Regions from separate parts of the Homo sapiens genome. Here regions 1, 3 and 4 are each linked to region 2. The links are contacts of gene promoters, found by promoter capture Hi-C in blood cells and fetal thymus (Javierre and others, 2016). All regions are on one chromosome and are shown on one strand. The core of a region is centred on a gene start or on the middle of the fragment in contact, and the rest is flanking DNA. Distances in the headings are between cores, read along the strand shown.

Region 1 (3,129 bases), core at 206-2,705, 690 kb after region 2:
GAGAAAAAAAAAAGGAAGCAATCAGAAAATAATTAACAGTAAAGCAAATAAAACCTCATATATCAATAATTACTTCGAATGTAAATGGATTCAATTCTCCACTTAAAAGATGTAGACTGACTTAAGAAATTTTTAAAAAGTGAACCAACTATATGCTGCCTACAAGAAACACACTTTACCTGTAAAGACAGATACAGACTGAAAGTAAAAGGTTGGAAAAAGATATTCCACACAAACAGAAATCAAAAGTGAGCAGGAGCAGTTATACTTATATCAGATAAAACAGACTTTAAGTCAAAAGCAGTTTTTAAAAAAAGACAAAGACAGTCATTATGTAATGAGAAAGGGATAAATCCAGCAAGAGGATACAATAATTTTAAATACATATGCACCCAACACTGGAGCACCCAGATTCATAAGTCAAATATTACTAGATCTAAAGAAAGAGCTAGACTCTGATACAATAATAGTGGGAGACTTCAACTCCCCACTCCCAGAGAAGCATTAGACTTAAACTGGACTTTAGACCAAATGGACCTAATAGACATTTACAGAACATTTTATCCAACAACTGCAGAATAAACATTCTTCTCATCAGGACATGGTACATTCACCAGGATTGACTATACGTTAGGCCAGAAAGCATGTCTCAACAAATTTTCAAAAATCAAAATTATATCAAATATCTTCTCAGACCACAATGGAATAAAACTATATAAATCAATACCAGAAGGAACTTGGAAACTATACAAATACATGGAAATTAAACAACATGCTCTTGAATGACCATTAAGATGAAAATCAAAAATTTCTTGAAACAATTGAAAATAGAAACATAACATGCAAAACCTGTGGGACACAGCAAAAGCAATGCTAAGAGAGAAGTGTATAGCAATAAATGCCTACATCAACAAAAATAAAGATTTTAAATAAACAATCTAATGATACACTCCAAGAAACTGGAAGAGCAAGAACAAACCCAAAATTCACAGAAGAAAAAAACACAAAGATCAGAGAAGTGGTGAAATAGAGCAAATATTTCAAAGAGCAAATATATATATATGCTCTTTGAAAAGATAAAGTTTATAAACCACTAGACTAACCAAGAAGAGAGAAGACCCAAATAAACAAAGTCAGAAATGAAAAAGGATACATTACAACTGATACCACAGAAATACAAAAGATCATCAGAGATCATTATGAACAACTAACTATATGATAACCAACTGGAATATGTAGAGGAAATGAATAAATTCCTGGAAACAAAACCCACCAAGATTGAATCAGGATGAAATAAAAAACCTGAACAGACCAATAACAGGTAGCAAGATTGAATCAGTAAGAAAAAGCCTCTCAACAAAGAAAAGTCCAGGACCAGATGGAATAACAGCTGAATTTTACCAAATGCAAAAAGAAAAATTAATAACAATCCTCCTCAAACTATTCCAAAAACTTGAAAAGGAGGGAATCATCTCTTACTCATTCTGTAAGGCCAGTATTACTCTGATGCCAAAACCAGACAAGGACACAACAAAAAAAGAAAAGTACAGGCCAATATCCCTGATTAACACAGATGCAAAAACCCTCAACAAAATACTAGCAAACTAAGTGCAACAGCACATCAAAAAGATAATACACCATGATCAATTTAAATTTATACTAGGAATGCAAGGATGGTTCAGCACATGCAAATCAATAAACATGATACACCACATCAACAAAATGAAGGGCAAAACCATATGTTAATCTCAATAGATGCAGAAAAAAGATTTGACAAAATTCAACACTGCTTCAGGATTAAAAATGCTCAACAAATTAGGCATAGAAGAATCATACCTCAAAATAATAAAGGCAATATTAGAACAAACCTACAGCTATCATCATACTGAATGGTGAAAACCTTTCCTCTATTAATTGGAACAAGTCAAGAATGCCCACTTTCACCGCTTCTATTCAACATAGTACTGGAAGTCCTAGCCAGAGCAATCAGACAAGAACAAGAAATAAAAGGCATCTAATTTGGAAAAGAGAAAGCCAAATGATCCTTCTTTGCAGACGACATAATTTTATATCTAGAAAAAACAAAAGGTGCCACCAAAAAACTCCTAGAACTGATAAATTCAGTAAAATTACAGGATACAAAAACACAAAAATTGGTAGCACTTCTATACTCCAATAATGAAATAGGCAAAAAAGAAATCCAGAAGGCAGTTCCCATTACCAAAAAAAAATACCTAGAAATAAATTTAACCAAGGAGGTGAAAGATCTCTACAAGGAAAACTACAAAACACTATGAAAGAAATCGAAGAGGATACGAATAAATGGAAAGACATTTTGTGCCCATGGATTGGAAGAATTCATATCATTAAAATGACCATACTGCCCAAAGTAATCTACAGATTTGATACAATCCTTATCAAAAATACTAATATCATTTTTCACAGAAATAGAAAAAAAAATTCCAAAATTTGTATGGAACCAAGAAAGAACACAAATAGCCAAAGCATTACTAAGCAAAAAGAACCAAGCTGGAGGTATCACACTACCTGACTTCAAAACAGACTACAAGTAACCAAAACAGCATGATGTTGGAATGAAAATAGACAAATAGACCAATCTAATAGAATAGAGAACCCAGAAATAAATCCACATATTTATAGCCAACTGATCTTCAACAAAGCCACCAAGAACATACATTGGAGAAATGACACCCTTTTCAATAAATGGTGCTGAGGCAAGTGGATAACCATACTGAGAAGAATGAAACTGGCTATCAGATACATAACCTGAAGTAAAAAAAAAAAAAAAAAAAAAAAAAAAGAATGAAACTGTACCCCTATCTTTCACCATGTACAAAAGTCTACTCAAAATGGATTAAATACTTAAACGTAAGACCCGAAACTATAAAACCACTAGAATAAAACAGGGAAAACTCCTCAGGATACTTACTGGTCTAGGCAAAGATTTTTATGGCTAAGACCTCAAAAGCACAGGCAATAAAAACAAAAATAGGCTGGGCATGGTGGCTCACACCTGTAATCCCAGCACTTTGGGAGGCCGACGTGGGCAGATTGCTTGATCCCAGGAGTTCAAGACCAGCCTGGGCAACATGGTAAAAACCCATCTCT
Region 2 (3,170 bases), core at 147-2,646:
TAGGGAGGCTGCTGGGGAGGGTGCGCGGGGCTTGACAGGGCCGCCGCCGCCGCATCCGAGCCAGGTTCGAGTTCAGCCCGGGAGGAGCCAGGACTTCTGGTGCAGCCACCCAAGTACAGAGCCCTTCGCTACAATTTAGCAACTAAATATCCAAACTACTAGCTTCAGTAGGAGAGGCCTCTGAGAGGGCGTTCCTCTGTAGATTGAAGCGCGGCCAGAGCTAGGCCATGGCCCAACAAAATGTATCCACGGCGGCCTGTTCCCTGCGCCTCCTACATTGATCATTTTCTAGGGTGGAACTGTGGAAACTAGAAGATCCCAGAGAAACCCATGGCCGGTGGTATTTTCTGCCGGGTAGGCCCTGTCCTAATTCTCCCGATCGGTCCATTCCCGGACCAAGGCGGGCAGCCTCGTCAGGGTCTGCCATGCTGCGAGCGGGGAGCGTAGGCCATGGGCAGGCTCCTGGGCAAAGACCAAAGCCCAGGCAGTGAGAGTGCCGTTGAGGCTATGGGGCCAAGGCGCACAGGCGGCACCAGTTCATCTGGCGACTCCAAGGAGGCCTCAAAGCCCTCACAGGATGCCCTGAGAAGCGCCCCCGCCCAGGGGCTCTAAAGCGGGCCTGGACCCAAATTTGTGGAGCTCGGCCTCCGAGCTCCGAGATCGGCAGCGGCCGGGCGAAGCTGGGCCAAAGAGACAGGCACTGTAGACCTAAGTAGCTTGGCTACAAGCCTCTTCTGTTTTGCCGGCCTGTGGAGACGTGGAGCTGGGGCTCCGAATGTTGTCCCAGCCCTTCCTCAGCACCTCTGAGGCTGTTAGGGGGATGTATGGTGTGATCCGAGGCTCCCAGCGGCCGTTGAAACCCCTGGGCCAATGCTGGCAGGGCCAGGCTAATCTTTACGCCCTCCTGAAACTTGTCATCCTGAATCTTAGAGGGGCCCAACCAAAAAGAGAAAGGGAGCGCGCCAGAGTTTAACGCCGCTTTGTAAATCACTTTCTGGATAATTGCGGGAAACTACCACTCCAGCAAACAAGCTCGAAGAATAAAGCAAACAGGGAATAAATTCCTGGGTGCTAATAAACCCACCCCTGCCACCCCCACCCTTCCCGGCGCTCCCGCGGGGCCTGGCCTCAAGTCAGCCCAGGAGGAGGAGGAGGAAGCTGGGGCTGGGTCAGGCGGGTGGTGGCCACCGCTCGCCACCCAAGATGTTATTCACTGGTAACAATCCCCATTATCTGTCCCCACTTTGGGCTAATCAGACAGAATCGCTAATGCCAAATGCTGCTTCCTGCAGCCTCTGGGAGGTAACTGGGCGCCAAGGGGCGGGGTGCGGGGCGGGGTGCGGGGCGGGGCGGGGGCGGAGGTGGCACCTTCCGGGCTCGCCCCGGCTCTGGTCCAGTGCTCATTCAGGTACTTAACACCCTGGAGACCCGGACCTCGGCTTTCAAAGCGGCCTGGGTGGGAAGAGCTGTTTATATAAACAGAGATTCCGCTGTAAATGCGCTAATATCCCGGCTGCCAGCGCATGGCGAGCGCCTCCCACGCCCATCCGTAGGAGCGGCGTCCCGGCCGCCCCTCCGTTCCCAGCCTGCCCTGCCCCCGCCTCCTTCCCCTCCTCGGCCATGGCCACCTCTGGACGCCTGAGCTTCACCGTGCGCAGCCTTCTAGATTTACCCGAGCAGGACGCGCAACACCTGCCGAGGCGGGAGCCAGAACCACGCGCCCCCCAGCCCGACCCCTGCGCCGCCTGGCTGGATTCGGAGCGCGGCCACTACCCTTGTAAGTGCGTGGTGGATTGCGGTGCGGGGTGGGAGGTAGGAGGCGTGGGGCAGCAGAATCAAGGGCCCAGCCCACGAGGGGCCGGAAAGCCGAAATCCCAGCCCAGAGTCTAGATTTCCTCAGTCTTGGAAACGGGAGCCCTGTCCTCGAACCCCTAACGCATTCATCCCGGTCGGCACATCCTAAGAGCAGATCCCTGCCTGGCACTGGTGCTCCGAGATTTGGGGTTTCTGTGTCTGACGATTTCTAGAGGTCGGAATAATTGAAATTTAAAACGCGCCGCCACCTGCCGCCCCCACCCCACCCCCCGCCCCCTCTCCATGCCTGAAAACACGGCCACGATCTCCAGGCCTCCGTCTGGGATGGCCAGTGTTGGCGAGTTTACCCCCACCCCGTTCCCACTCAGGGCTCCGCAAACCTCGGCACACTGCAGTGCAGTCGACCTGGAGGAGGCCGGCGCTGGTGACCCAGCTTGTGATAAACTGGTCGGCCAGCGCAACTACCGGTGCGGACATGTTAAGAGGGCCCCGGGGTGGGTTTTTTCGGGGCACGATCTCAGGCCCGCTGATGACCGCTGTGGTATGAATGAGGTCACCGCATTCGGAGAGGTGGATGTCCAGATGTGGACTCAGGAAATGGCCTCATCCCGAAAGTCTCGGGCTAGTGGGCGTGCCCTCTGGCCAGTGCCTCCACGCCCGCGCCAGAAGGGCAGCAGGCCCTCGTAGGGTCCGGCGTCTCACCCACCCGTGTCTCCTTTGCTGTCCCTAGCCTCGGACGAGAGCAGCCTGGAGACCAGCCCGCCAGACTCGTCGCAGCGGCCGTCCGCTAGGCCCGCGTCTCCGGGCTCGGACGCCGAGAAAAGGAAGAAGCGGCGGGTGCTATTCTCCAAGGCGCAGACGCTGGAGTTGGAGCGGCGCTTCCGGCAGCAGCGGTACCTGTCTGCGCCCGAGCGCGAGCAGCTGGCGAGCCTGCTTCGCCTCACGCCCACGCAGGTCAAGATCTGGTTCCAGAATCATCGCTACAAGCTGAAGCGCGCTCGCGCTCCAGGGGCGGCGGAGTCGCCTGACCTGGCAGCATCCGCCGAGCTGCACGCCGCGCCCGGCCTGCTGCGTCGCGTGGTGGTGCCGGTGCTTGTTCGCGACGGGCAGCCGTGCGGCGGCGGCGGCGGTGGCGAGGTGGGAACCGCCGCGGCCCAGGAGAAGTGCGGCGCCCCTCCAGCCGCCGCCTGCCCTCTGCCGGGCTACCCTGCCTTCGGTCCCGGCTCGGCGCTTGGCCTCTTCCCCGCCTACCAGCACTTAGCATCCCCCGCCCTGGTCTCCTGGAACTGGTGAGGCCGCAGGGCGGCACCTGGGGCTACCCTCGACTTTGGAGCGCGCTCTGCGATTGGAGCAGG
Region 3 (2,825 bases), core at 168-2,667, 510 kb after region 2:
GCTATGTTTCTTACCTCTCTGAACCTTGGTTTCCTCATCTGTAAAAGGGGCTCATCATAGTTGTGAGGAGAATTAAGTGAACTAATATTTGTGCCTGGTATGCAGTAACCACTATGTATGTTTTTGAAATAAATAAATGTTGTTGGAGTGAAACCCCCCAACACATCTCTAATGCCGCCTTGTGACTAGTGGATTAAGTGAGCACTTTGAAAATATGTATTACTTGAGTGATTAAATTGCCAAGCTTCCCCATTTCATTTACATCTTATTTCCATTTCTAGTGAATCATTCCTTCTAAGCACAAGGTTGTGAAAGGAAATCTTGAACACTAATAATAGCATTACAAGCTACTATAACCAGGGCTTACTTACATGATTATCACCAAAGCTCCAATAAATTTCTCAATTTAAATATTAAAAATCAGTCAATGATCTGTTAGCTGGAAAATATCTGGGGTGAAAGAGTGATTACCACTAAAAAATAGATTGAAGTCATTGCTGCTTTTAGAGCCTAGAAAAATACAAAGATCTGTTATTCTAGGTAAGTTACTTACTCTCTCTGCCTCCTTTATGGGCTGCTGGAAGGATTAAATGATTAGTGTGTGAGAAATGCTTAGAACAATGCCTGGCTCAAAGTAAGTAATCAATAAATGCCAGTTCTTATTATCACAGGTATTCTGAATACAGGTTGTGGCGATCAGGAGCTTTGATGACCATGGCAGGTGGCAATGCCCCAAAGTGCAGAAGACGTCAATTCCTCTTCCATATCCCCAGTCAACACACACATTCCCCTCCACAACCAAGAGAAGTGGGCATTAAAGAAAGGAAGGGCAAGAGGAACGACAATTCTAAAAGATCACCAAGGTGTATAGTCTGAATTATTTGGACTAGTTCTGCTGTGATCTTAGCCAATTGACCCTCTGCCCTAATTTCCCCACCTGAAAAAAAAGAAGGCCAATTTATTAAGGGTTTCTGATGCGTGGGTGAAAGAGGCTGTTAACACTCGAAAGTATTATAGATTAACAATCTTTCTAACCATTTTAAATATTAGCAAATGTTCCAGCTCACAAAGTGCCATGGTTTTAGTGGCCTGGAAAACGCTGCAATTTGTTCAAACATCAGTGGGTGTTATTTCTGGATGTTAATCAGTACCATTTACCTTGAGAACCTGGAAAATGTGTGGACTGTGCAAGTCCGCCATCTGCTGGTCCTGGAGACTCTGCGCCGCAGGGCAGAGATGCTTGTCCAATGCGGCCGGCACAGGAGCTCCTTGGAGAGCAGCAAACCAGCCAAAGCTGTTCCCACCACCTCAGGTCCTGATGCTGAATTATCACAGTGAACATGTTGCTTTCCCAAAGGGAGGTGATTTGTTTGAGAGGGTATGTGTGTGGTCTTTAAATAGTTTTGTTCTTTGTGCTTACATTATCATCTAGGAAGAAAAGATAATTTATTGCATCTCAGAAATGAAGCGACTCTGAGATAGCATCTATTTCAAATGCCTCATTTTACACAAAAGAAAAAATGTGGCCCAAGAGTCAGACAACTTTCCCAAGTTACTCAGCCAGTAGTGGCAGGACAGTATCCCCAAGGCTCATGCCTGGACACTTACTCTCGCTACCTTGGAGAAGGTGAAGGAGGGCAGAGGAATCTGCCAAAACAAAGAAAACTTCCCAGCCAGTGTCCTGGGTCACTGTATACGTCTTACTGACATGGCACTTTAGCCATAGTTTGCAAAGAGCTTTAACTTCTCTTCTTATATCCATATAAAAACTTTCACCTCTGATTGTAGCCAAAAGCCAAAGCCCTTTTATGCCCTATTGCACTTATGAAAGGGGAAAAATGCAAGTAAGGATACTTTATCTTGTGATTATTTTCACTTCCTGAAAAGCCAAAGATCTAGCAGTTTAATCACAAAGTCTGTCCTGTCATTCAGCAGCAGATGCCAGCCTCTTGCCCGGCAGCCACCAGAATAGAAGAACCCTACAGGTCAGAAAGTCTACACTCTTATTTCTCCACCAGAGAGAGGTCTCTCTTAGTTTATACAGGCCAACTATTTTTTTTTAATTGGTCTTAGTCCAATAATGACATATTTGCCTGGGTCACCTGCCAGCCAACCAGGAGCGCTCATTCAGCTGGGGTGTGGATACAGAGAAATTCTAGTGCCATCCAACAGAGGGCAGTAGTGCACAGACACATAACCACCCTGCTCAGCTCTCTCCTATCAGAAAAAAGGGGGTGGGGGACACAGGTGCATATTCTTACTGCTCTGACTCTGTCCTGAGAGTGGAGCCAAACATTTTTCAGATGCCAAAATCAATCTTAAAAGTCAATGATCTGACAAGGACAAATATTAATCGCTAATTCCTGTTTCCCCCCACTTCATGACGCTCAGCTTCATACTCTGCCCCTGAGCCTCCCAAACCAAAGTTCTTTTATCACGTGACAGAGACACAAGCCTTGGATCCATCTGAAAACAAAGCTGACAAGTTTCTCACCACCTAGCAACACAAAAAACTCTAAACACAATCCAAAGAATCCCCAAGGGAAACAGCTTCAAGAATCTTGAAAATCATACCTATTTTTGTTTGTAATGTGTGAAATTATTACAAGTATGTTCACCAAGAGGACTATTGATGGATGACTCACAATTTAGCTAAATTCAATGAACCACACACTGTGCCTATCCCAGTAGGTGACTCATGCATTTTTTATTTCAAGTATCAAGTGTTTGCCAAAAACAGTATTTAAAAAAAGTAATGAAAATTGTTCTGAAAGAGCTCATGAATAGGGTAGGACTACCCACCGACAACCTCATTTGTGCTCTGA
Region 4 (2,767 bases), core at 190-2,689, 530 kb after region 2:
TCTCAGCTCCAAAGGCAATTTGCCCTCTCTGGACAATTGTAACACTGAATCAGGAATGGCTGAGCTGAGGACAGATTCTAGACTGTATTTCTGAATTCCATATTTCTTCCAAGGGGAGAAAAGTGAGATCTTTTCTGCTATTTCATCATCACATTACAATTTGGAGAGGAAAATTCTACCTTCATAAATGCTAGAGAATGAAAGATAAACAATGGAATGTGTAATGCTAAAGGCTTATAAAGTTTAAGCCTACCATGATTTAAAATGAGGTATCTGAGAGGAAAGGGGTGGTTAGTGCAGCCTCCAGTGTGGGGGATTTAAGGTGCCATGAGAGATGACAGAAGCCATGGTCGTGGTGGGCGCTTTGGTTCCAGAAGAGGCCCAAGAGGAGGGTTCAGGCTCTTTGTGCCACATATCCCATTTGATTTCCATCTGTGTGAAATGGCCTTCCCAGGGGTCAAGCCAGCACCTGATGAAATGTCCTTCAGTGAGGCCTTGCTGAAGAGAGATCAGTACCTGGCTCCCAACTCTGCTGAACAGGACTCTGTCCTTTCTCTGGTGACAAAAATAAACAACGTGACTGATAATTTGATTGTGGCTCTAATTTGAAGTGCAAATTCAAGAAGTCTGACAGGTGGGATCGTACTAAAAGAGAAAGATGGCTACAGGCCACAGTGCAGCTGCCCTGGTGATAATACTAAAGACTCTGCCAACACTGGAAGCTGTTACTGCCCTGGGGAACAAAGCTTTGGAAAGCCTCAGAGCACAAGATTCTTCTGAAGTTTTGACCGTGCTGACCAACAAAACTGGCTTGAAATCAGTTCTTCTGATGCTCCAGTGAAGATTCTCATTACAATAGTGTCACTCAATCTTGGAAAACTGGACCCCAAAGTCTATTTGGATAGCAAGGTATTGCAGAATGCCTTGGCAGTCATCTGCCCTGCCTGCTGGATTGAGAGAAGTGCCTCTCAGTCCATAAAGTTCTCATCAGACTACTCAAGGACTTGAGGATTTGTCTTCCTGGCTTTGAGCCACTCACATTCTGGATCCTTGACCTACTGGGTCATTCTGCTGTGATGAACAACCTCACCAGACAGCCTTTGGCCCTAAATGTTGCATATGAGCATTGCTTGCAAATTCTGGCTGCAGGACAGTTCCCACCAGGGTCACTGGGTGTCACTGACCCCTGTGAGAGTACACACAGTCATGACCATGCAACTGCAGGACATGGTCTGCCACACAGCTCTGACTCTGGTCTGAATCCTCTGGTGGCTTTAGGAAGATCCTTGGCCAGGAGGACGATGCCAGCCATCTTGCTTCCAAAATATCTACCTGGGATGGAGTGATAGTAACACCTTCAGAAAAGGCTTAAGAGAAGCTGCCAGAGAAACAGGGAGGAGAGGAAGAAAAGGAGAAGACAGAAGAACCACCTCAAGGAGAGAAAGAGGAAAGCATGGAAACTCAGGAGTGACCTTCCCTTCACTCCCTTTCCTACCCAAGGGGGAAGACTGGAGCCTAAGCTAGCTGCCAGTGGGCTTTACATGGTGGCAGGGATTTCCGTGGGACAGGAAGACAACAGGAAGGAAAATAAACTCTGTAGAAGGAAATGCCAGTCCAGTGGGTTTTGATATTGGCTTAGCAGCCAGAGTCTCCCATTTATGACCTATGCCATCCATCTATAATGAAGCGGGATACCAACATTTCTTCCTCATACTCTAGAATCCCCAACTCCTGAAAACCCTTCTCTCAACTAATAACTTTGCTGTTGAAATGTTGTGAGCTGTTAGTGTCTGGAAAACTTTTTCTAAGAAAAACAATGAAAATACTTCCTAATAGGGCATAAATAAATAAACATAAAAGGAGATACCTGAGAGCAAACACTGCTTTGAAGATCTACAAATTTCTGCTTTTTCCTTAGAGATTTAACTCCCAATAAAGCTGTTGTTTATAGATTTTCCTTTCATTAATTTGGATGAAATGAGCCCGAAGACTAAGGGACTCGGTAGAGAAAGAGAGCAATGACTATTGATGACTTTTTGTGGACTTTGCAAATTAACAAAGCCATCTGGTGACAGAGAACCCCACTGGCTGACACTCAGGCCATGTCAACTCCTATCTTTAACCAAGCTTTCACAACTTAAGAGGTCTTCCAGCCTAACCTCACTGCCCGACCTGGACTTCAAAAAGTATAGCTATGTAATTTGTTTATTGCATTCTATTTCATATTCTATTTTTATCCCCAAATAGACCTGCCTGAGAACAGAAACTGTTCTTCCTACTTCTTTTGCCTACAAAAAAAGGCATAAAATTAATACATGTTGAGACCTTTTGTACTTTCCTCATCAGAATATACAGTGTTTTAAGAACAGACTGCAAATTTTATCAGTGGAGTGTTACATATCAAGGAGGCCCTCTTTTCTCTCACCTAAGATAGGGCTACATTAAAACAAGCACTTGATAAATGCCTTTTAATGACAGTATAATAAAAAATCATTATAACATTTAATAGCTGCTTGTCACGTGTACAAATATATACAGCAGTTTTAAAACAGTAGGTACAAAATAGAAAAGTTCCCATATCTTACCAAGTTGATAGCTAGCTTTTAAATAACTGCAGCACACTGGTAGACATTATGTAAGTGAATCTGTACTTCCAAATAGGCATGTTTTACACTTCTGAATATGTGAATAAAGGAATTGTTCTAAGGTATTCACTACACACACATGTGGACGCGCACACACACACACACACACACACACACACAAT

The links. The method cuts DNA at HindIII sites, captures the fragments that hold promoters and counts their contacts. A CHiCAGO score of 5 or more calls a contact.
Region 1: a fragment that was not itself captured here is called in contact with the fragment with the promoter of NKX2-8 in region 2 in 1 of 17 cell types (M1 macrophages); the score reaches 5.6 in M1 macrophages.
Region 3: the fragment with the promoter of LINC00609 here is called in contact with the fragment with the promoter of NKX2-8 in region 2 in 2 of 17 cell types (M0 macrophages and megakaryocytes); the score reaches 6.4 in M0 macrophages.
Region 4: a contact is called between a fragment that was not itself captured here and the fragment with the promoter of NKX2-8 in region 2, in 1 of 17 cell types (M1 macrophages). The highest score is 6.5, in M1 macrophages.

The regions. Positions count from the first base shown.
Region 1 is chr14:35,893,228-35,896,356 of GRCh38, reverse strand. No RefSeq gene overlaps it. Among named protein-coding and RNA genes, the nearest start is that of BRMS1L, 68 kb to the right of the region's middle. The HindIII fragment of the contact is 3,843 bases long and covers 1-3,129 here.
Region 2 is chr14:36,580,840-36,584,009 of GRCh38, reverse strand. NKX2-8 (NK2 homeobox 8) reads left to right here and starts at 1,396. Exons shown (of 2, transcript NM_014360.4): 1 at 1,396-1,777; 2 at 2,546-3,170. The coding sequence starts at 1,621. The coding sequence ends at 3,108. RefSeq lists enhancers at 2,005-2,815, 2,816-3,170. The HindIII fragment of the contact is 11,395 bases long and covers 1-3,170 here.
Region 3 is chr14:36,069,019-36,071,843 of GRCh38, reverse strand. It overlaps LINC00609 (long intergenic non-protein coding RNA 609), which reads right to left and starts at 1,417. Exons shown (of 3, transcript NR_073454.1): 1 at 1,159-1,417. The HindIII fragment of the contact is 3,305 bases long and covers 247-2,825 here.
Region 4 is chr14:36,052,898-36,055,664 of GRCh38, reverse strand. The region is part of intron 1 of LOC105370452 (a long non-coding RNA gene); the gene reads left to right. It also overlaps the pseudogene ILF2P2. Among named protein-coding and RNA genes, the nearest start is that of LINC00609, 16 kb to the left of the region's middle. The HindIII fragment of the contact is 1,381 bases long and covers 749-2,129 here.